Linked DNA regions of Homo sapiens: all the other regions are linked to region 2. The links are contacts of gene promoters, found by promoter capture Hi-C in blood cells and fetal thymus (Javierre and others, 2016). All regions are on one chromosome and are shown on one strand. Each heading gives the region's core, a stretch centred on a gene start or on the middle of the fragment in contact. The rest is flanking DNA. Distances are from core to core; before and after follow the strand shown.

Region 1 (4,958 bases), core at 1,592-4,091, 510 kb after region 2:
GGGAAGTGCTTTTCTTATTGCAGGGAATGTGGCTGGGCTCAGAGGGTCAATTCAGACCAAAAGGGGAGTCTACTAGCTCAAAGATGTGAGGTTAATTCTAATAAGCAGCATTTGGAAGAAGCTGAAGATCCTACAGGATCTGGAAGCCAGGTCTCCCTTGGACAAAGGGTCTGCTCAATGTAGTCTAGCATTCAAAATAGACAAGATTGTGGCAAGAAGAAACCAGAACTGACTGCCAAGCTGAGCCAGCCAGGTTGATCCAGGTGGACACTTACATTTGAATAAACAACATATGTTTTCATCTTAATCAATTTTTACATTTTGAATTTTATTTTATTTTCTCACATTTGTAAACATTCATTTTTCACAATTCCAGACTTAGTGAGTCTTTTTATGAGAGTGTGTGGGGCTAGGAGTGTGATCTCTGGGCTATGGAGACACATTTTTATGTCTGACATTTAGATCTGTCACTTATTTGCTGGGTGTCCCTGAGCAAGTTTCTTCACCTTCCTAAGCTTTAATTTCCTTGTTGTAAAGTAAGGGTGATGATAGTACTTACCTCATAGATTTCTTGAGAAAATTAAAAAATGTCTGTAAAGTCTTAACATAGCATTTGAGTTCCATAAATGTCAACTCTGTGGTTATTGATGTTACTACGGTGAAGAGGCAAGAGGGCACTGTGACGATTGCTGCCTCCAAGCTGAAAGAAAGACGATCCTCATATTTGAGAAGGAAGAAGAGATAAGAAATTCTGCTTTGGGCATGTTGAGTTTAACGAGTCAGTGGGAAATCCAGGTTGCATAAGGGTCCAGAAGTCAGGAACGGATAGGGCTAAATATTTGAATATATGCATCAAAATGCAGAGGTGGTGGGTAAAATAAAATAGAAAGGGAGAGGGGTCTGGCTTCTATATTCAAGGGTTATCAGAAGAGAGTGACTAACGAGGAGATCAGAAGGAACAGCTAGAAATAGATGAAAACCAGGATAAAGGCATGTTGAGAAAGTCAAAGGACGGATGTTTGATTATGGAAGAAGTGGCCAAGGAAGATAAAAGTAAGACAAGACTGGAGGTGGCCTTAGATTTAGCAATGATTGTACCACTTGTTTCTTTTATTAGGGCAGACAAGGGAGCAGTCATAGCAAAAATCAAACTGCTGTAGATTGAAAAATAAAGGAAAGGTAAAATATTCATAATATATGAAGAAAAAAGTCAAATTAAAAATCACATGTCTGGCTGGGTGCAGTGGCCCATGCCTGTAATTCCAGCACTTTGGGAGGTTAAAGTGGGAGGATTGCTTGGGCCCAGGAGTTTGAGACCAGCCTGAGCAACATGGTGAAACTCCACTTCTACAATAAAAATGAAAATGAAAATTAGCCAGATGTGGTGGTTCGCCCCTATAGTCCCACCTACTCTGGAGGCAGATGTGGGAGGATTGCTTGAGCCCCACTGTGATGAGCCATGATAGCAACACTGCCCTCTACCCTGGGCAACAGAGTGAGACCCCATCTCAGAAAAAATCATTTGCCTGTTATAACCCATTGTTATTAAACAATGAAGTTAAAAAAAGAAATATTTACATGGGGGATGGTATTTAAAGCATAATTATTTCTTTTCTAATATCACTTGCTGACTTCTTGTAAAGTCTGGAGGGCTAAGCTTCCCCTAGACTATTATTTTCACTTCTGTGCTGCTTCTACCTGCTTTGGACTTTCAGATCTTGCCTCTGGTGTCCTCTCTGCTCTATACTTGATGGCTGAACTCTGCTTCCGGAGTCTGCTTTTTGGTGCTCTCCAAAGACTGAACAATTACACAGCTCTTGCTCTTCCTGCTTCAGGCTGCTTCAGAAATGTACTCCACCCATCCCACTTGACCCCTGGGACACAGATTCCAGCATAAGAATGTGCCTGTGCCAGCCTGTCCCAGGAGGCAGGTGCACTGCTCTTAGGAGTTATATGATGAAAATATGTATGTTTCTGTGGAAGTATTGCTCATTAGCAAATCAAAGCCCCAGCAAAATTGGTTACTGTAGGAGATAATGTTCCCACAAAATCACTTCCCACTTTTCCATGCTGAGTCACGTCCTGGTTTCATTTTCTCAAGCAGGTAACAACTCCTGTCAATGACACAGAAAATTTTTTTCTTAAATCACTGATTGGAGAGTTTTATACACTTGAAGACAAGTTACGTTTTAAAGCTCAGTCATGGGAGAAGAAGGAAGCCAGGAGTTGATGGGAATAAACGTTTCCACTCACCTCAAACCTTCACAGCACTGCCACTGGTTCATGTGACTTTGGATGAATGCCCAGGCTTTCATTCTGTCATGTGTAAAAGGGAATTGTGATGCCAACCTTACCTGTTGTGAGAAACCCACGTGTTAATGGTTCAAAGGGCTATTAGAGCTGATTGTCCTTAGTAAACCTTCTTCAATTCGACCTCATTTTACTCCCAGAAAGTATCTCACCTTTTTCCTGACAGAGAAGCTCATCCTATGAAAGGGAAATGTTTAAGAAAATATAACCATTTAGTATGAATTGTAATCTCCAACTCAAAATGTTTCTTTACTGTTAGCCTTCCTCTGCTCTTGTGTGATGCTTAGGCCAGCCTGCTGCTACCTTGTCTCGGATTCTGGGAGGTATAATATTTTTGAAAGACTATCCTATGGTTTTTTTTTTTTCCCCATGGCACTTTCTCCTCTTTGTCTCTTACTTGCCTCCATATAAATAACTAGCCCATATGTATTGCCTCAGGAGAGGGAAAAAGCTTTGTTGGGGCTTTTGTTTCTTCATGAGGGCTTAGAACAGGAGTGAGACCAAGACAGAAGCGGCTTGGAAACTAGGGAGGAAAACTTTTCACCCATGGCCTCCCCCACCAGGAAGGATTCCTTGGGCTATCAGAATAAGAAATAAATGAGAAAAGGCAAGGAAGCTTGGGGGGGTTCCTGGAAAAGGTCCTGTGCCAAGCTGGAGGCTTTGACAATAGCTCTAGATAGCTTGGGGGATCTGAGAGGAGAGACAGCCTATACCTCATTTCTCTTCAGAGCAGCTGGTGAGAGAAGGGAAAACAGCTCTGCCATGTGGCTCTAACCAGATGGGATGTTAGACGGCTCCTAGAGTTTCTCACACCGTATTATCATGAGGGAGCAGCAAATGACATCTTTGCAACCAAGAATGGTGGAGAAGGAGTTCCTGAAGGGACCGTGCAGGTGGAAACCAAGGACATTTTTTCAGGTGCCCAGATGGACCAGCCACTGAGGAGGATGTGTGATCTGAGATGGGACAGTAGATGCCAGTGTGAGATGACTCTGAGGTTCAAATGCAAGTGTTCCTTCAATTGCCCACTCCCATCACACACATGTGCACACACACACTAGCCACACACAGGCATGTCAACCACACACACCTTAGTACTAAGTAAGATTGAAGAATTTAGATGAAAATAAAACTTGGAGAGAATTAGGTTACATTTCTACTACCTCAGTGGAATAGGGACTCGAGAAAGAGATTGGTTTCTGAAACAAATAAAGCTGTATTTCTCACATATCAGAATTTGTAGACTAAGATGCTTCCTACACTTGATTAACTGTTTTTTCTTCTTTTAATCTCTTCTCTTCTTTTTTTTTCTGCTGTTATCCATCTCTGTTACTTTCCATAGCCACTTCTTTCTTGACTTACATATGTGCGCAGGCCTTTTCTAACATTAATGCCAAAAAATAGTAAACCACATGTCCCCAGCCCTCCCTGATACCATCTGTTTGCAGCTCACTAGGACCAGCCTCATTATTTTCTTAACTCCTGTTTGTTTCAGTTGCTGTAAGAAGCCCCAGACTTCTTCTGGTCTCCCTTTATCTTCCGCACTTTTCATGTAATTCTGCACATGCTCGATTTTGTACCATGTCCAATCCCTCCCCAGCTCCTGAAATATTTCCATTGGACCCTCAGGAACTCATGGAACATCATAGCCAAACCTTTGTAGCATCAGCTGTTTGGATTCCTGTGCTGATCATTTGCCTGCTTGTTTTCAGGCCTGTTTCCCACTTTTCCTCTCCTCTGCTCTCTATTACAGGTGACAGAGCTTGGCAAAAGCTCTGTTGTCACCTGGCTGCCATCTAGGCTCAGAAAACAGAAAGCACTGGTGGGACATTAACGAGTGGTGGTAAAGGAGAAACAGGGTATTCCTCCCCATCCTCTCCACATCAGCCTCTCGCAGTGTCTTCTCTTTTGTTCTGGTTCCTTCTGGATGAACTTCCTCTTTGGTCCCAGCTTCCACCTGGTTCCAGGTCCTGCCAGGTGGCTGAGCTCCTGGGCATGGAACCATCTCCTCCTTCTCTGGGCTTTCCAGAAAAATCACTGACAGTGGCCTTCTACTCTTGTTAATCTCTGAGTTTCTTTACTGTACCTCATTGGGCTTCTCAGCTCTTCCAGTAACTTTTATTAACATAACCAACTCCTTGAGTAAAATAAACTATCTGATGTGGGTTCTTTTCTCCTGATTGGACCCTGACACAGTTTTGTTCACCTTCCTGCTCTGACCAAAACCAAGATCTTTTTTGAGGATCCTACTTCGCCTGTAGCCCTTTCCTTTGGTGACATTTTTTTTTCCTCTTGAAACTCTACTTCCACTGAGTCTAGATATGGGTTAGGTGTCCCTCCTTGTTTCTTACTACCATTTTCAGACTGTTCTTCTTCCATTCTACCCTAAGCTCTTCGAACTTTGAGTCTCACTTCATCATACTATACCTTCTACTGTCCTTCATCTCTGGTCCTTGGATTATTTGTTTCTGGATGAATTTAGCTACTGGCTCTTTGTTACACTCTTCAGTACTATTCCTGTCTCAATTCTTGGTGATTTCAACAAAAATCACAGCACAAATGATTCCTTCAACACTGCCTTTTCCATTTCTGGAACTCCCCTACAATGATGATATTGCTCTGTATTCTACCTCAACCACTCATTTCCC
Region 2 (5,479 bases), core at 2,539-5,038:
ACACTTAGGAACCTTCCTTCAAGAATTTAGAGGGAGGAAAAATTAAGTCTTTTAAGACAGGGCAAATGAAGTATTTTAAGATTCATATTCAACAAAAAATAATTCATATATTTGAAATAAAACATGTTTTCCCTTATGGATTAAGCCCTCTATTACAAATCCTAGCCATTTTTTTACTACCTTAAAAAGACACACAAAAAATTGAACTCTAAGGAAAATGGTTATTCCATGAACTGCATAGTAGTATAAATGAAGACTGTTTATACTTTTAATAATTTACTTATTGAAAAAAATTATCATATTCAGCTTTTTTAACTCAAAGGACTGTCACTAGGAGAAATAAATTAAGACAATTATTTGACAGGAGAGCCACCAAATGTTAGGTAGGATTTGTCTGAGAAGGTATTGTGGAATCTAACACTTTCTGTAGATTACTGGAAATCTATACTACAGTGTTTATGAGAAAAAGATCTTGCAGTGCACCTTTAAGTCAAGAACAAAGTATATTCGAATAGTTGTTTATTAAGGCACTGACATGCAAAATTACCTTAAAAACTTTTAACAAAAATAAGGCACATTGGTGGTTTACAGACATGCTAATTTTAAACTTTTTAGAAAGATGCAATCTTATTGTTTCTACAGTAAAATGGCAGTTTTTCTACAGTAAATGGCAGTATTTACCTGTTTAATATTCTTGTCTCAAACGAACACTTAAACATTTTTTTTATTGTGGTAAAAATGTAAAGTTGACAATTTTAACCTTTTGGTTTTTCTTTTCTTTTTTTTTTTTTTTTTTAAAGACTCAGCCTTGCTCTGTTGCCCAGGCTGGAGTGCAGTGGCATGATCTTGGCTCACTGCAACCTCCGCCTCCACCTCCGGGGTTCAAGCAATTCTGCCTCAGCCTCCTGAGTAGCTGGGATCACAAGTAACCGCCACCACGCCCGGCTAATTTTTGTATTTTTAGTAGAAACCGGGTTCCACCATGTTGCCCAGGCTGGTCTCTAACGCCTGAGCTCAGGCAATCTGTCCGCCTTGGCCTCCCCAAGTGGTAGAATTACAGGCGTGAGCCACCATCCCCAGCCTGTTTTCTATTTTTTTAAGTAGAAACTGGGGTCTTCACTACTATGTTGCCAGGTTGGTTTCAAACTCCTGGGCTCAAGCTCAAGGGATCCTCTTGCCTGGGCCTCCCAAAGTGCTGGAATTACAGGCGTGAGGCACTGCACTAGGCCCATTTTAACTTTTTTTTTTTTTTTTAAATGGAGCCTCACCCTGTCACCCAGGGTGGAGTGCAGTGGCACAATCCCAGCTCACTGCAACCCCCCACTTCCTGGGTTCAAGCTATTCTCCTGCCTCAGCCTCCCAAGTAGCTGGGACTACAGGCACCTGCCACCATGTCCGGCTAATTTTTTTTTGTATTTTTAGTAGAGACAGGGTTTCACTCTGTGGGCCAGGCTGTTCTTGAACTCCTGACCTGGTGATCCACTCGTTTTGGCCTCCCAAAGTGCTGGGATTACAGGCATGTAAGCCACCATGCCCAGCCTCATTTTAACTTTTTAAATTATAATTTAGCTATGCAGGATGGCTCGCGCCTGTAATGCCAGTACTTTGGGTGGCCAAGGCAGGAGGATTACTTGAGCCCAAGAATCTGAGACGAAATTGGGCAACATCGCAAAGATTTCTGTCTCCTCAAAATATATTTAAAAAATAGCTGGGCCATGGTGGCATGTGCCTGTGGACCACGGGGTAGGCGGAGGTGGGAGGATCACTTGAGCCCATAAGGTTGAGGTGGAGTGAGCTGTGATCCTGCCACTGCTCTCCAGCCTGAGCAACAGAGGACCTGTCTCCCCAAAAAAAAAAAAAAAAAAAAAAAAAAAAAAAAAAAAAGGTATAGTGGCCTTATGTACATTCATAGCGCTGTGTAGCTATCACCATTATCCATCTAAATAACTTTTTTTTTTTTTAAAGGTCTCCTATGTTGCCTCAAACAATCCTCCCACCTTGGCCTCCGGAGGAGCTAGAGTACAGCCGCTGCCACCAAGCCCGGATTTGCTATGACACTGATATACAAGTTATAGAGTCCCTGCTTTCAACTGTTTTAGGGTATAACTTAGAAGTGGAACTGCTGGGATAATTTTTATGTTTACCCTTTTGAGAAAACACCAAATGATTTTTCACAGCTGTTGCATATTTAGCAATGCACAAAGGTTCCAATTTCTCCCCATCCTCACCAACACCTGTAATTCCTGTTTTTTTTTTTCCTGAATAGTCACCCTAATAGGTGTGTCATATCCACTTTTAAGTTTCTCCTTCCTCTGAACTTTCAACATATTTTATGTCTGATGGCATTTATTTCTCACAATACCTAGAAAAGTCCTTCATCCAGAAGGTGTTCAGTAAGTATTCCCAAGCCTCCTGAATACTAGTCCTACCATGGCACTCAAACTTTTTCTCATGTATAACCCAGCTAAAAGGACACTTAACAAGGACCAGAAAAACCACTGTTTTTCTAGTGAATGAACTAGTGTATGGTGGACTGGTTCATGGTCCACTGGCTATGTTAGGACTAATCCTGTAAATATTGCAATCAAAACCAAATTATGGTAACTTCTCAATTTCCTCCCACTGGAAAACTAAGCCCTTCCACCCTGCCCTATAACGCAAAGGTGCTTAACGTAATTTATCTGACTTTAAAATTTCAACTCGGTATTGCTACTAGCCTAAAATATATAGAGACAGTTTATAATATCTTTTTCATTTTGCTGACGCTTTACAGTTTAAGAGCTCTTTCGCATACAGTCTGATTTAATTTTACAGAGCAGAAAACCAACGTTCAGAGAGCTTTGACAACTTAAGAGATAGCCCCCAACATCAAGGCGTATTCCACTTACCGACTGTCCCTTTTTGTGCTTCCTTCTGTAGAGGACAGTCCAGTTTATCTGCCGAGGATTCCTCTTGGAAAGGAAAGCCGACTCGCATTTCGCATTAAGAAACTGGAAAACCTAGAGTGACAAATGCAAAGGAATTACTATTTAACTATACAAAGTACAAGAGGCTGAGTAAGCTTGGAATCCTTAGAAGATCAATATGCTAGTTCTGGCTTATCATTTTACAAAACTGAGGCCCACAAGGACCAAAAGGCTGTCACATAACTGGCAGGTAACTGTGTCACACTATGAAGGTCCTTGCGTTTAGTCTTTTCTCGAGAGCAGGAAATCTAGGCTCATAGCAAAGGACAGGGTGGTGCGTCCTTCTGGGAAGCATTCTGCTCTTGTCCGTCCCAGGATTCCAAAGGGTACCTCCGTACCTCAGTTATTTCCCTTACACCGGGACATCAGTTACATAAACCCCTCCTGATGTCCGACCTGGCTCACAATAAATAATCAACACTGGTTCACTTAGAGGTTTCTGGTCCTAACGACCAGTCCACAGAGCGTCCACGAAGACTTCCAGAGGCCAGTGGTGATGTGGGGAATAAACCCGCCTAAACCGAATTAAACCAGCCTTTCCTCCTCGGAGTACAAGAAGGTAGGTGAAGCCGACGCGGCTTTTTACCTTCCCGTCGGTCCTGGCGTAGCGCCTCCCGTGTCCGGGGTAGATCTTGTACCCGCTAAAACTGCACAGCTCGACCCTGCAACAAAAAGTGAAAGTCCATCAGGGAGGGTGTCTACAGCCATGCCAGGGACGACAGAGAGGAGTTCTGCCCGAGGATGTAAGCGGATTGGGAACCACGGGTCGTGCTTACTTCATGGCGACAGCTCCACGGAAAGACAAAAGATGGCGAAAAGAAAGAGAGAATCATGGGAAGAGACCTTATAAGGTCGCTGCGGGGATGGGGGCCGGAAATCTCCTCCCCAATATCCTTCGATGCTCCTGGCCCTCCTTGATGACGTAATCATCGCGAGGCGAAAGATCTCGTTTTCCCTGACAGCTGACTTCCTCTGGCGCAATTCATCCAGAGGCGCTGGAGGGTTCTCGGGCCCAGAGGGCCTGCCAAAAAGGCAGTCAGACAGTTGGTTTATGAGTCATTCTGTCTCTGTCTCTCCTCTCTTTTTTTTTTTTGAGACGGAGTTTCGCTCTTGTTGCCCAGGCTGGAGTGCAGTGGCGCAATCTCGGCTCACCGTAACCTCCGCCTCCCAGGTTCAAGCGATTCTCCTGCCTCAGCCTCCCTAGTAGCTGGGATTACAGGCATGTGCCACCACGTCCGGCTAATTTTGTATTTTTCGTAGAGACGGGGTTTCTCCATGTTGGTCAGGCTGGTCTCGAACTCCTGACCTCAGGTGGTCCGCCCTCCTCGGCCTCCCAAAGTGTTGGGATTATAGGCGGGAGCCACTGCGCCCGGCCCATTCTGCCTCTCTTACTGCCAAGTATCCTAGAGCCATCTTCCGGCTGCAGGGAATGTGAACTGAAGAGAAAGGTGTCCTCTCTTCTCATAAAGAGACCCAAAGACGAATGCCCCGCAGGTAAAACCAGTCACATTTTGCCTTCCCTGTTGGCCCATTTCCTCAACCAAACAAATTAATAGTTTCACCATTTATAAGAAAGTAATGACAACCGAACCGTTTCTCAGGCTGTGCGAATCGAACAGTGCGCGTTGGCGCTTTGCATTAATTATAATTAACATTCTTTGAGCGCTTTCTCTGTGCCGGGAATTATGCCAAAGGCTTTTTAAACATGAGCTCATTCAGTTTCCAAAATTCCTATTAAGTACCTGCCTAAGAACTACAATTCGGAGTTGCTGCCTAGTGAAGTTGAGGGGGTCGGTGGAGCCCCGCTGGGAGGCCAAGGGCTCAATCTGTTGAGCCCTTCTATGATGCTACATATTTCATCGTATGACAAGGAGTGGCCAGAGGCAATTCTTGAATTCTGTGGGAGGTTGCAGTATATGACTAGGAAACAAATGTAATGACTGAGTTCTGCTTTCTATGTATGCAACTCACCCTAAAAACGTTTTGTAAGGTAGCTGGTTGAAGATATTTGGAATGTCTAACAAGTTGGCTGACTAATGTCATGAAAACTGTACAATTGTGTTGGAGCCAGTCTTTTTTTTTTTTTTTTTTCCTTGAGACGGAGTTTCGCTCTTTCATTCAGGCTGGAGTGAAGTGGCGCGGTCTCGGCTCACTGCAACCTCCGCCCTCTGGGTTCAAACGATTGATTCTCCTGCCTCAGCCTCCCGAGTAGCTGGGATTACAGGCGCCTGCCACCACGCTCGGCTAATTTTTGTATTTTTAGTAGAGATGGGGTTTCACCATGTTGTCCAGGCTGGTCCCAAACTCTTGACCTCAGGTGATCCACTCGTTCTCCCAAAGTGCTAGGATTACAGGCGTGAGCCACCGCGCCGGGCCTGGAACCAGTCTTAAGAATGATGTTAGGTGGCCAGTCATGGCGGCTCATGCCTGTAATTACGGCACTTTGGGAGGCCGAGGTGGGCGGATCACCTGAGGTTAGGAGTTCCAGCCCAGCCTGGTCAAAATGGTGAAAC
Region 3 (5,192 bases), core at 1,502-4,001, 490 kb after region 2:
AGTTGAATGGTCTCCACAGTGAGAATTATAGAACACTGCTAAAAAAAATTAGAGATGACACAAACAAATGGGAAATCATTCTGTACTCACGGATGGGAAGAATCAGTATTGTTAAAATGGACATACAGCCAAAGCAATTTATAGGCCTTGTTTAAATCTTATGGAAAATATTTTTTCTTTTAGTTGGACAATTAAACTGGTTATATCCAGGTTCTTAACCACCTTTCTGTAGATGGTGGTTCTATGCCTGTTCTGTTTTCAAAATCTATTAATATGTAGCACTTTTCTTATTTGTCCTATGTGTGCACCATCAGTGGCCAGTTTGGGATCCATTCAGTGATCTATGTTGTAGTTCAGTTCTCAACTGAATCTTGCTGTTTAGGATTAGATCCATTCATTCACAGTTTTAAAGTGAGACTAAAAGTTTGCAGGCAATTTATGAGATCATTTTCTTCAGCTCTGTCCTCTCTGTAATATTCCTGACATTTTCTGATTCCTGGTATCCATCACCCACTACTCTCCATTCCTGTGGCAAGGAACCTAGGGACTTAGTCTCCCCACTCTTAGAACTTGTACATTTCTTAGAACTGCCTCTGCATCTGGGCTAAGTCATGATAGGATAGAGAGAAAAAAAGCAGTGGATTGCCTTGCACATTCTTGGCACCACCAAGAATCAGACCATCTGGCCAGAGAGAAATTTTCCCCTTCTTCTGCTCATTGTTGTCATTACCATCACCACAGCTGTAAGAGTGCCTGGGAGTTGGGGTGATTTGCACAGGTATTAATCTAATTACCTGTTAGAAAAACAAATCAACACACTTCAGAGGAAGATAATAGAATCCAGATCTCTACAATGTGTCATTCTTCATATCTAGTATATAATAACATAGCAGGAAATTAAATTACTGGATGATTAATTGTAATTTGGTTTTAAGTTTGTTAGGCAAAAGGTTGATTTTCAGTTTTATTTGGATGAGTATGTAGAAAGCCCAAGATGTTAACCAAACCCCCGCTGCAGACTCTAGACTCTTCTCTGTAAAGCAGAGCAGCCAAATCTCTGCTAAGTTCTTTTAGCTTTCCAGTTGTTATTTTCCACTGGGACTCTTGGATCCAAACTCTGCCCTTTGACAACTGACACCAACAAACCTGCATCTTTCTGCTTGAATTGTAGGTGAGACATACAGACTGGAAAATATACAAAGTGGAAAAGCCTAATATACCTACATTACACAGTATAATTCCCTCCTGGTATCTATCTTCTTTTGGTCATGCTACAGTGACGTCAACGTGTTGTTTCTTAAATTTTGTCCAGACTTTATGATTGTTATCTATGGAATGGTTTATCTACCATAAGCTACTCTGCAAATATCAGAACCAGAACTGCTAAATATATTTATTCATTCACTTGTCTACCACCTGGATTTATAATATGTAAATATTTTGCCATTTTTTTCATTTTATTTTTGAAAATAAAATCTTATAGAATTGAAGTCTCATTTGTATTATTTTTCATAGCTCATTCTGTCTGCTTCCCCACGGACAACCAATATTTTAAGATTGGTGAAGAGCCTCCCTGCTCATGTTTCTGTACACTTACTGTCCATATGTATCTTTATATAAAATACATTTACAGAAATTATTTTATGCTATATTATTTTGCAACATTTTAATATTTTCCAGATCTTTTTATATTGTAGATCTAATTTATTCATTCAAACTACCAGATTATGATTTTAAAGCTCTTAGTAGTTTTCTCTGTTGCTCTAAGGGTAGAGCCATAATTTATCTTTGGGTCAAGATTGTATTTTTCTTTTGGGCAAAACTCTAATGTCCCCTTCCAGTTATCCATAGGTAAATCCAAAATGCCATTCTATATTGCAAAAGTTAGGAATAAAGAAAAATTCAACTGTTCTATTATAGGAACTCTTGACTCTTGTGGGCAGAGTGGCATCCCTACACATTTTATGATTTCATGTTGATTAAGTAGGGGGAGCAATGAAAGGTAATGGTCCCTTTAGGATGCTTCTGTCTATGGGAAGTAACGTGTTGGCAGTAAGCATCAACATTAAGGAGGATGGAGATCAGTTGAGAGACTTCCAGTGAAGAGATATGACCAATTGTCTTTAGGAGGAGAAATAATTAATTCCATTTTAAGCTTTCTGTCTCTGACTCCCCATTTCCCTTTATAATGCCCCAGTCTTCAGTAAAGTATTACTGGACACTGTGGCCTGGACTTTGGAGAGCTGCAGCAGCAGAGATCTGTGGAGCAGCTGCCTGAATTGACAATGGATATCCAACAACCTACACAGAGTTGTGGAACATGTACATGCAATCATTGAAAACCTTAAAAACACCTGGAGAAGGAGCCCTAAAAAGACTGGATATGAATGTTGTGCAAGTAGAATGGGAGATTTTGATTATTGTATTTGGGGAGTAATGGGAAGAACATTGTAGACTTGTAACATACTTAATAAAAGGACAGAAAAATTGATTCACCCCAAAAGTACAAAACAACCATCTCCAAAATTATTCTCATCATTTAATTTCATTTGACAACTTCAGAATGCTTGACGCAATGCTTCAGTTACAGCAGGCATTTCTACAGTGGAATTTTCTGTACAATTATGAAATTAACAATGCTTCCCTCCCTTAATGAGTTCAAGTTCTGGGTAGAGGAAACACATCCATACTCAATAGACATTCATGGCCAACTGAAGATCCCAAATTGTCTTAAAATATATAGTTCAGTGGGAAGAAAGAAATGCTTAATTTCCAAGTATCCTTTAAATTGGAAAATAACATTTTTTTTTTTACTTAAATGAACTATAAGCACTTTGTTCTGAATTCTACAGGAATTGTTTTCTACTAATTAATCTTTAATGTATATGTTTAGTGCCTGTGTTCACATTTTTCAGGATGCTTCTGAGAGTCCTAGAGCCCTGTGAATTTATTACTAAGAAATAACCAAAACAGCCCTCAAAATAGTGGTTTTTATTTTTATTTTAAATCAAATAAAGTGCTCTTTATTAAATGATTTTTAGAATCATTAGTCTCCTTTTTCTTCAAATGTCCATGGTATTCATGTTAATTGAACCAGGTCACTCTTTCTCAATGTTTCTAAAAATTTTCCTCTTAGAGATGAGATGCATGTTTTTCTCAAATGATAGTATGATTTATACTTACAATTACTCACAGAAAATCTGGCTATAGACTCCATTGCCAGATTGTTTATTAATGAGTAGATTTTGAGAAAAGATATTTTATTACCATTTTTATGTCTTAGGGACCTCATCATTGAAGCTAAACTTCTAATCTTCCTTACAACATAAAGATAATTTTACTTATTGGAAGCTTATGTAACCTAAAATTTAGATTTTGACAACTGTCTTGCAGTTTATAAATATTATAATAAAGAAATCTATACCAGGATGGTTTAAACTCTTTAACTTATAAACAATAACTGTGAGAATTCTTGGTATGCTCTAGATGACATTCCAGTTGTTCTTTTATGTTTGTAGATGTAAGTCAAGGATCCCTAAGTTATTCTAAAGTCATGCCCATTGTTCTTTGAGTCTTGGCTTCTGATAATGTCTTGATTTGCTTGAAGTACAGTTGGTTTGTTTATTAACCTCCTTATTGTTAAGATGATTCAATTAAAAATGTCCCAGTCATTTGACAACTTAATCAAATAACTTCAGACAGAGATAACATTATTATGAAAATAACTCAGGGTAATTAAATGTAGAGGGACTGAGTAGCCCCTTCAGATAAAGTCATCGTGGGAGATCTCTGAATAGAGGACATTTCAGCTGGGATCTAAACGTCAAGCATGAGGTGGTCTCTCAAAGAAAAAATGGAAAGAAAAGCATTCCAGGAGGAAGGAAGCAGAAATATAAAGGCCATCAGGTAGGAATAAGCTTTGTTTGCTTGAGGAATGACAAGGAGGCCAGTGAGATGACTAAGGTGGGAGAAGTCGCCAATGCTATATGAAAAGTGGACACGGCCAGATTACACTCAGCCTTGCAAGCTGCGAGGATTATATTATATTATATTATATTATATTATATTATATTATATTATATTATATTATAATTTTAGAGACGGAGTCTCACTCTGTCGCCCAGGCTGGAGTGCAGCGGCGTGATCTCGGCTCACTGCAACCTCCACCTTCCAGGTTCAAGTGATTCTCCTGCCTCAGTCTCCCAAGTAGCTGGGACTACAGGTGCCTGCCACGATGCCCAGCTAATTTTTGTATCTTTAGTAGAGATGGGATTTCACCATGTTGGCAAGGATGGCCTCGATCTCTTGACCTCGTGATTCGCCCACCTCAGCCTCCCAAAGTGCTAGGATTACAATGTGAGCCACTGCGCCTGGCTGGAGTTCTGATTTTATAAGCATGGAATCACATGTCCAAGATATGGTCGAGTGAAAAAACCATGCTTCAAACAGTCTGAATAGAAAGATCCCCTTAATATAAAATTGTATATTCATTTCCATATGTGTCTGTAGGCACGGAGATACATTGGGGCATATGTTCAGAGAAATGCTAACATTGGAAACATCTGAGGGCTGAACTTCAGGTGACAATTATGTTCCTTTTGTATTTTTCTGTACTGTTTGAATTGTTTACCAAAACAACAAAGCCATATCAAATATGCATACATAAAAAATGAGCCACGGTCCTCTTTGACTAAGATTTAATGTTAAGACAATATTGACATTATTGTGGCTTCCAGACTCACACAAGATAGAAAAAAAATGGATTTATAAAGAAAAGTTTGTTGGATTTTATTAATAAATGTAACAGTAAAATAACCTATGCTTTTTGGGGGAGTTTTCAATGATTATGGAAGATACAAAAAGCACCAAAAAACCTAGAGTGCACAGAACATGAACAATCAAGAAAATTCCCTTATTATGTACCAAAATAGAATTCCCCACATATGATTGGTATTTCCCTCAACTTCTGGAAAGCAAAAAATGAATGGGAGGACATTAAGCTGACAGAAGGCAGAAGGTGGAAAAAGGGTAAATAGTATTCACGTTACACATTAATTCAATTACTCATTCCTTTGACAGAGATTTTAAAATAATCTAAATAAACAAGGGTTGCGTGCAAGAAGTCTATTTGAATTAGATTCTCATGGATGTAAAAACAAAACACGACCACAAAGGGAAGCAGGCAGGGCTGA
Region 4 (5,664 bases), core at 2,017-4,516, 420 kb after region 2:
GCACTTTTAAGTTAAGGAGACAACTTCTTTCCTTAAACCTCATGAACCAACCTCTGCTAGGTTCCAACTTTTCTTTTGTAGCTTCCTCACCTCTTTCTCAGCCTTCTTATAATTGAAGACAGTTAAGGCCTTACCCTGGATTAGGCTTTAGTTTAAGAGAATGTGGTGGCTGGTTTGATCTTGTATCCAGACCTCTAAAACTTTCTCCATATCAGCAATAGCACTCTTTTGCTTTCTTATCATTTGTGTGTTCATTAGAGTAGCATTATACATTTCCTTCAAGAACTTTTTATTTGCATTCACAACTTGGTTAACTGTTTGGCATAGGAGGCCTAGCTTTTGGCCAATCTCAGCTTTTGACACGCCTTTCTAACTAAGCTTAATCATTTCTATTAATAGCTTTTGATTTAAGTGAGGGATGTGAGACTCTTCCTTTCATTTGAATAGCTTAGAGGTCATTGCAGGGTTAATAATTGGCCTAATTTCCATATTATTGTATCTTAGGGTATAGGGAGGCCTGAGAAGATGGAAAGAAACAGAGAATCAGCTGGTTGGTGGACCAGTCAGAGCACACACATTTAATGAGTTCACCGTTTTATACAGGTGCAGTTTGTGGCACCCCAAAACAATAACAATAACAATTGTAAAATCAAAGATCACTGATCACAGATCACCATAAAAGATATAATAATAATAAAAACATTTGAAATATTGAGAGAATTACCAAAATGTGACACACAGACACAAAGTGAGCACATGCTGTTGGAAAGATGGTGCCAATAGACTTGCTCCACACTGGGTTGCCACAAACCTTCAATTTATAAAAAAACCCGCTATCTGCAGAGTAGAAAAAAGCAAAGTATAATAAATTAAGATATACCTGTATTTGTCTTTCTGTGCCTGGCTTATTTCACTTAATATAATGTCCTCTGATTTCATTCATGTTGTCACAAATGACAGGATTTTCTTCTGTTTTAAGGTTGACTAGTATTCCATTGTTTGTACCTCATTTTCTTCATCCATTCATCCCTTGATGGACACCTAGGTTGACTTCATGTCTTGGCTATTGTGAATAATGCTGCAATAAACATGGAAGTATGGCTGTCTCTTTGACATACTGATTTTATTTCCTTTACATATATACCTAGAAGTGGGATTGCTGGATCACAGGATAATTCTCTATTTAACTTTTTGAGGACGCTTCATACTGTTTTCCGTAGTGGCTGTACTAATTTACATTACCACTACAGCGTGCAAGTGTTCCCTTTCCTCCACATCCTCATCAACACTTATCTTTTGTCTTTTTGATAATAGCCATTCTAACAGGTATGAAGTGATATCTTATTGTGGTTTTAATTTGCATTTGTCTGATGGTTAGTGATGCTGAGCATTTTTTTCATATGCCTATTGGCCATTTGTGTGCCTTGTTTTGAGAAATATCTATTCAGATTCTTTTCTCATTTATTAAATGGTTTGTTTTCTTACTATTGAGTTTGTCTGAGTTTCTTATATATTTTGCATATTAACTCCCTATCGGATATATGGTTTGCAAGTAGCTTTTCCCATGACATAAATATTTTTGTACTTGAACTTAGCAAAAGTTAGACCAATATAAAAAGGCATTATTATTAAATGGGTACACAAATTTTACCACCACCATCTTGAGAAATATATAATGAGAAGATTTTAAGTGTTAATTTAAAATGTTTGTTTCTTAAGAATTACATGGTAATAATAATAGTAAGAATAATAGTAAGAATAGTAAGAATTACATGGCAATAATCATGATAATAACAACCATTTATTAAGTAATTGTAATTACTTTGCATTAGGTATTATATTAGGTACTTCATCAAGATTATTATTATTTTTTAAAGCTGGTATGAATATATTAATACCAAACAAAGTAGACTTTTAGGCAACAAGCATCCCTAGAGATAAAGAATAACACTTCATAATAATAACAGTTTCAATTTTCCAGGAAGATTTAACAATTCCAAATTTGCATTTATCAATTATACATCCTGATATGATATAAGAACAAATGGAGACAACTGCATGAAAAAATGGTTAAAGCCAAAACATAGTAAAAAAGTTCTAACATTCTTTTAAATAAAATAAGCTGGCAAAAAAATAAAAAATATATGGAAAATTTGAACTATAAAATTAACCAAGTGACCTGATGAACATATATAGAATACTATATTCAAAAACTGTAAAGTATACTTAATTTTAAAGACACGAATGATAAACATAAAATATAGAAAGAAAGCTAGAAATCAATATGAATATAACCTTACATTTTAAATCTTACAAGATTATTTTATTAATCCTCCAAACAATCATGTGAGGTTAATATGTTCATTAGGAGGGGACTAACATTTGGAGTGGTAAACACTTTGCAAGGATCTTATGGCTGGTAAGGTGATTAAGCTAGGATCTGAGGCGAAGTCTGACTCCAAACTGTGTTCTTCAGTTTTTTATCTGTTTCATTGTTTAATTTGTATTTTTGTTATTGCTAGCTACATTAAGCATTTTTCATTTATTTATTTCCTCTTGTAGAATTAACTGTTTGTGTTTTGCTAGTTTATTTATTGGAATATTGATGATTTTTCTCATCAGTTTGTATGATCTTATGTACTATAGATGGATACCCTCTGTGAATAATATTTGTTGAAAATATTGGTCTATTTCTCTTTTAGATTGTTTTTGTTATAAATATCGAATTCTTATATTACTATTTTTTCCTTCATAACTTTTTCTAATTAACTGAAGCCTCATTATTATTCTTCAAAAGAGCTGATATGCTTTTCTATCTAATCAAATTGAATACAATTATGCCTTGGTATCTGTGGGGGATTGGTTCCAGAACCCCATCTCCCTGCATATAGCAGAATCCCTGCATACTCAAGTCCCACAAGTCCCGCAGTTGACCTGAGAAATCTGCTTATAGGAAAAGCTGGTCTTCCATATCCATGAGTTTCCCATTCCGTGAATACCGTATTTTTGATCTGCCTTTGGTTGTGGATGTGGAACCCGTGGATACGCAGGGCTGACTTTATTTATTTATTTACTTAGTTAGTTAGTTAGTTAGTTAGTTATTTAGTTTTTGAGACAGAGTCTTGCTCTGTCACCCAGGCTGGAGTGCAGTGGCGTGATCTTGGCTCACTGCAACCTCTGCCTCCCAGGTTTAAGCAATTCTCTGCCTCAGCCTCCCGAGTAGCTGGGATTACAGACATGTGCCACCACACCCGGCTAATTTTTGTATTTTTAGTAGAGACGGGGTTTCACCATCTTGACCAGGTTGGTCTTGAACCCCTGACCTCGTGATCCACCCAGCTCGGTGTCCCAAAGTGCTGGGATTATAGGTGTGAGCCACTGGGCCCGGCCAAGGCTGACTATATTTATTTTAAAAGTTCTGTGGATTTTCTTCTTTCTCTGCTACCCTTGATATGGTAAGATCAAGCCCTCCTCTTCCTCCTCCTCAGCCTACTCAATATGAAGATCATGATGACGAAGATCTTCATGAGGATCCACTTCCACCTAATACCTAATAAACATATTTTCTCTTCCTCATGATTTTCTTCATATCTTTTTAAAAGAGATGGGGGTTCCCACTATGTTGCCCAGGCTGGTCTTGAACTCCTAGGCTCAAGTGATCCTCCCATCTTGGCCTCCTAAAGTGCTGGGATTACAGGTGTGAGCTACCACACCCTGCATCTGATTTTCTTTTTCTTTTTTAAAAATTAAAAATAAGAATCATGATTTTCTTAATAACATTTTTTTCTAGCTTACTTTATTGTAAGAGTCCAGTATATAATACACATTACATACAAAATATGTGTTAATCAACTGTTTATAGTATTAATAAGGCTTCTGGTCAACAGTAGGTTATTAGTAGTTAAGTTTTCAGGGAGTCAAAAGTCATATGTGAATTTTCAACTGTGGGGGTGGGGTGGGGAGTGGGGTAGGATTGGTGCCCCAACCCCTGCATTATTCAAAGGTCAACTCTGTGTTGTATATACACACTATATATATATAATATATATATTCAATATATTCACTATACACACACACACACATCTTTTGCTATACTGGCTCTTTTGGAGGTAAAAAGAGAAAACCGATATAGTAGTATTCTAGCAAATGAATGCAGAAGTTGGGGTTGTGTGAGGGAAGAAATGAACATGTATAGAGTGTATGCTGTGTGTTTGGCATTTTACATATAAAGCATGACGTCTGTTTAGGAACCTTTCCTATTAACCCCCTCTTGTTACGGGAAGGGCCTAAAGTTAGGTGGTTGCAATTGAAGAAGGAAAAAATGGAAGCAGTAATACAAGCTCAGGTAACCTCTACATCTTTCCTTTTCTCTTTATGCCACATGTTAAGTGTTAAACCCTATATCAGATGCAAAATTTTGAAGAATCCCTAGTGATTTTGGATTTTACATAAAAACCATTATTTTCTGGCAAAAAAGTGCTACTTGAATAAATAATTCAGGTAAAAGCAGATTTATACTTTTGGAATAAATTGTGGACTTTTAGAATTAATTTTAGCTGAATATGCTACTTATGAGATTATTGTCTACTGAACCAGAGGAGCCATACTGACATTTATCTATGGTGATCTTAAGCATTTTTATGAATTTATGTTTTGGGGAAGACATCATTGGAGTAAATTATGCACCTCTGCTCTTTAGCTGTCATCTATAGCTGATTGCTTCTCTTCTGGTTTGTATGACCTGTTCCAAAGGCAGTTCATGTTGGAGATGGAAGAACAGAGTAAAACCCACAATTGGCCTCCCTTTAACTAGTCAAACTAGTTAACCCAGTTACCTTTACAGTGTGGGTGACAATGTTTTATGATATTTGAAGGATCTAAGGAAACAATAAATATGATAATGGGTGACATTTTAATGGAAACCTATTGTTTACACACACTTTCACCATACATTATTTAATTTTTATAAAGAATAAAAGAATTATCTTGAAAGTAGAATCTGACTTCAGTTGTGTTATGCAATGCTGGAATTAGCAGAAAAGAAGGCTTAGAGTTGTCCAGTTACAAACTTCAGATACAAAGGGTTTCTGACATAGTAGAAATTCTCCATCTCAACTTAGGAAAGGAAAAAACAAACACATGGACAAACAAATAGGGACAAAAACTGAAAAATGAGGAAGAAATTCCTTATGCTGAAGACTGAATGTCAGGAGGAAGTTTCAGCATTTCTTCCCCCATTTGAATTTACTCTTTGGAATGATTCTTAAATATTTAAGCCTGATAGCTAGAAACTGAAAAATCGACACTCCCAAGTCATGTGTAGATTTTTAAGTAGTGACTCTTCTCCTTTCAAGGTTGATGATGATGATGATGAAGTTAATGTTTACTGAGACTTACCATGGATCACATACTGTGCTGACAGGTTTACAGGAAATATGCCATAATCTTTCCAATAACCTGATTAAACAAACCCTACTATCTCCATTTTCAAACAAGGGAAAATGAAGCGTAGAGAGGTTAATCGACAGCTAGTGAGTGGGTGAACTGACTGGATATCAGATTAACTGACTCCAAAGTCTGCATATTTAATGATTATACTTTACTACAGGGCAGACATTAAGGATATTGTAGCAGAGTTGTCTGAACAAAAATGTCGCTATTTTG

What was found. Contacts are between HindIII fragments. The CHiCAGO score rates a contact against its expected background, and 5 or more counts as called.
Region 1: a contact is called between a fragment that was not itself captured here and the fragment with the promoter of RPL24 in region 2, in 1 of 17 cell types (naive B cells). The highest score is 5.2, in naive B cells.
Region 3: a fragment that was not itself captured here is called in contact with the fragment with the promoter of RPL24 in region 2 in 1 of 17 cell types (activated CD4 T cells); the score reaches 5.3 in activated CD4 T cells.
Region 4: a fragment that was not itself captured here is called in contact with the fragment with the promoter of RPL24 in region 2 in 1 of 17 cell types (naive CD4 T cells); the score reaches 6.0 in naive CD4 T cells.

Annotation. Positions count from the first base shown.
Region 1 is chr3:102,193,537-102,198,494 of GRCh38, forward strand. No RefSeq gene overlaps it. Among named protein-coding and RNA genes, the nearest start is that of ZPLD1, 240 kb to the right of the region's middle. RefSeq lists an enhancer at 1,169-2,368. The HindIII fragment of the contact is 165 bases long and covers 2,760-2,924 here.
Region 2 is chr3:101,682,930-101,688,408 of GRCh38, forward strand. It overlaps RPL24 (ribosomal protein L24), which reads right to left and starts at 3,789. Exons shown (of 6, transcript NM_000986.4): 1 at 3,743-3,789; 2 at 3,553-3,628; 3 at 2,889-2,999. The coding sequence starts at 3,747. It overlaps LOC124906262 (endogenous retrovirus group K member 5 Gag polyprotein), which reads left to right. Exons shown (of 3, transcript XM_047449415.1): 2 at 1,966-4,460. The coding sequence starts at 4,450. RefSeq lists enhancers at 3,186-3,375, 3,366-4,565, 3,536-4,025, 4,036-4,085, 4,996-5,479 and 1 more. The HindIII fragment of the contact is 5,611 bases long and covers 3,060-5,479 here.
Region 3 is chr3:102,169,468-102,174,659 of GRCh38, forward strand. No RefSeq gene overlaps it. Among named protein-coding and RNA genes, the nearest start is that of RDUR, 230 kb to the left of the region's middle. The HindIII fragment of the contact is 1,196 bases long and covers 2,154-3,349 here.
Region 4 is chr3:102,108,110-102,113,773 of GRCh38, forward strand. No RefSeq gene overlaps it. Among named protein-coding and RNA genes, the nearest start is that of RDUR, 170 kb to the left of the region's middle. The HindIII fragment of the contact is 5,780 bases long and covers 377-5,664 here.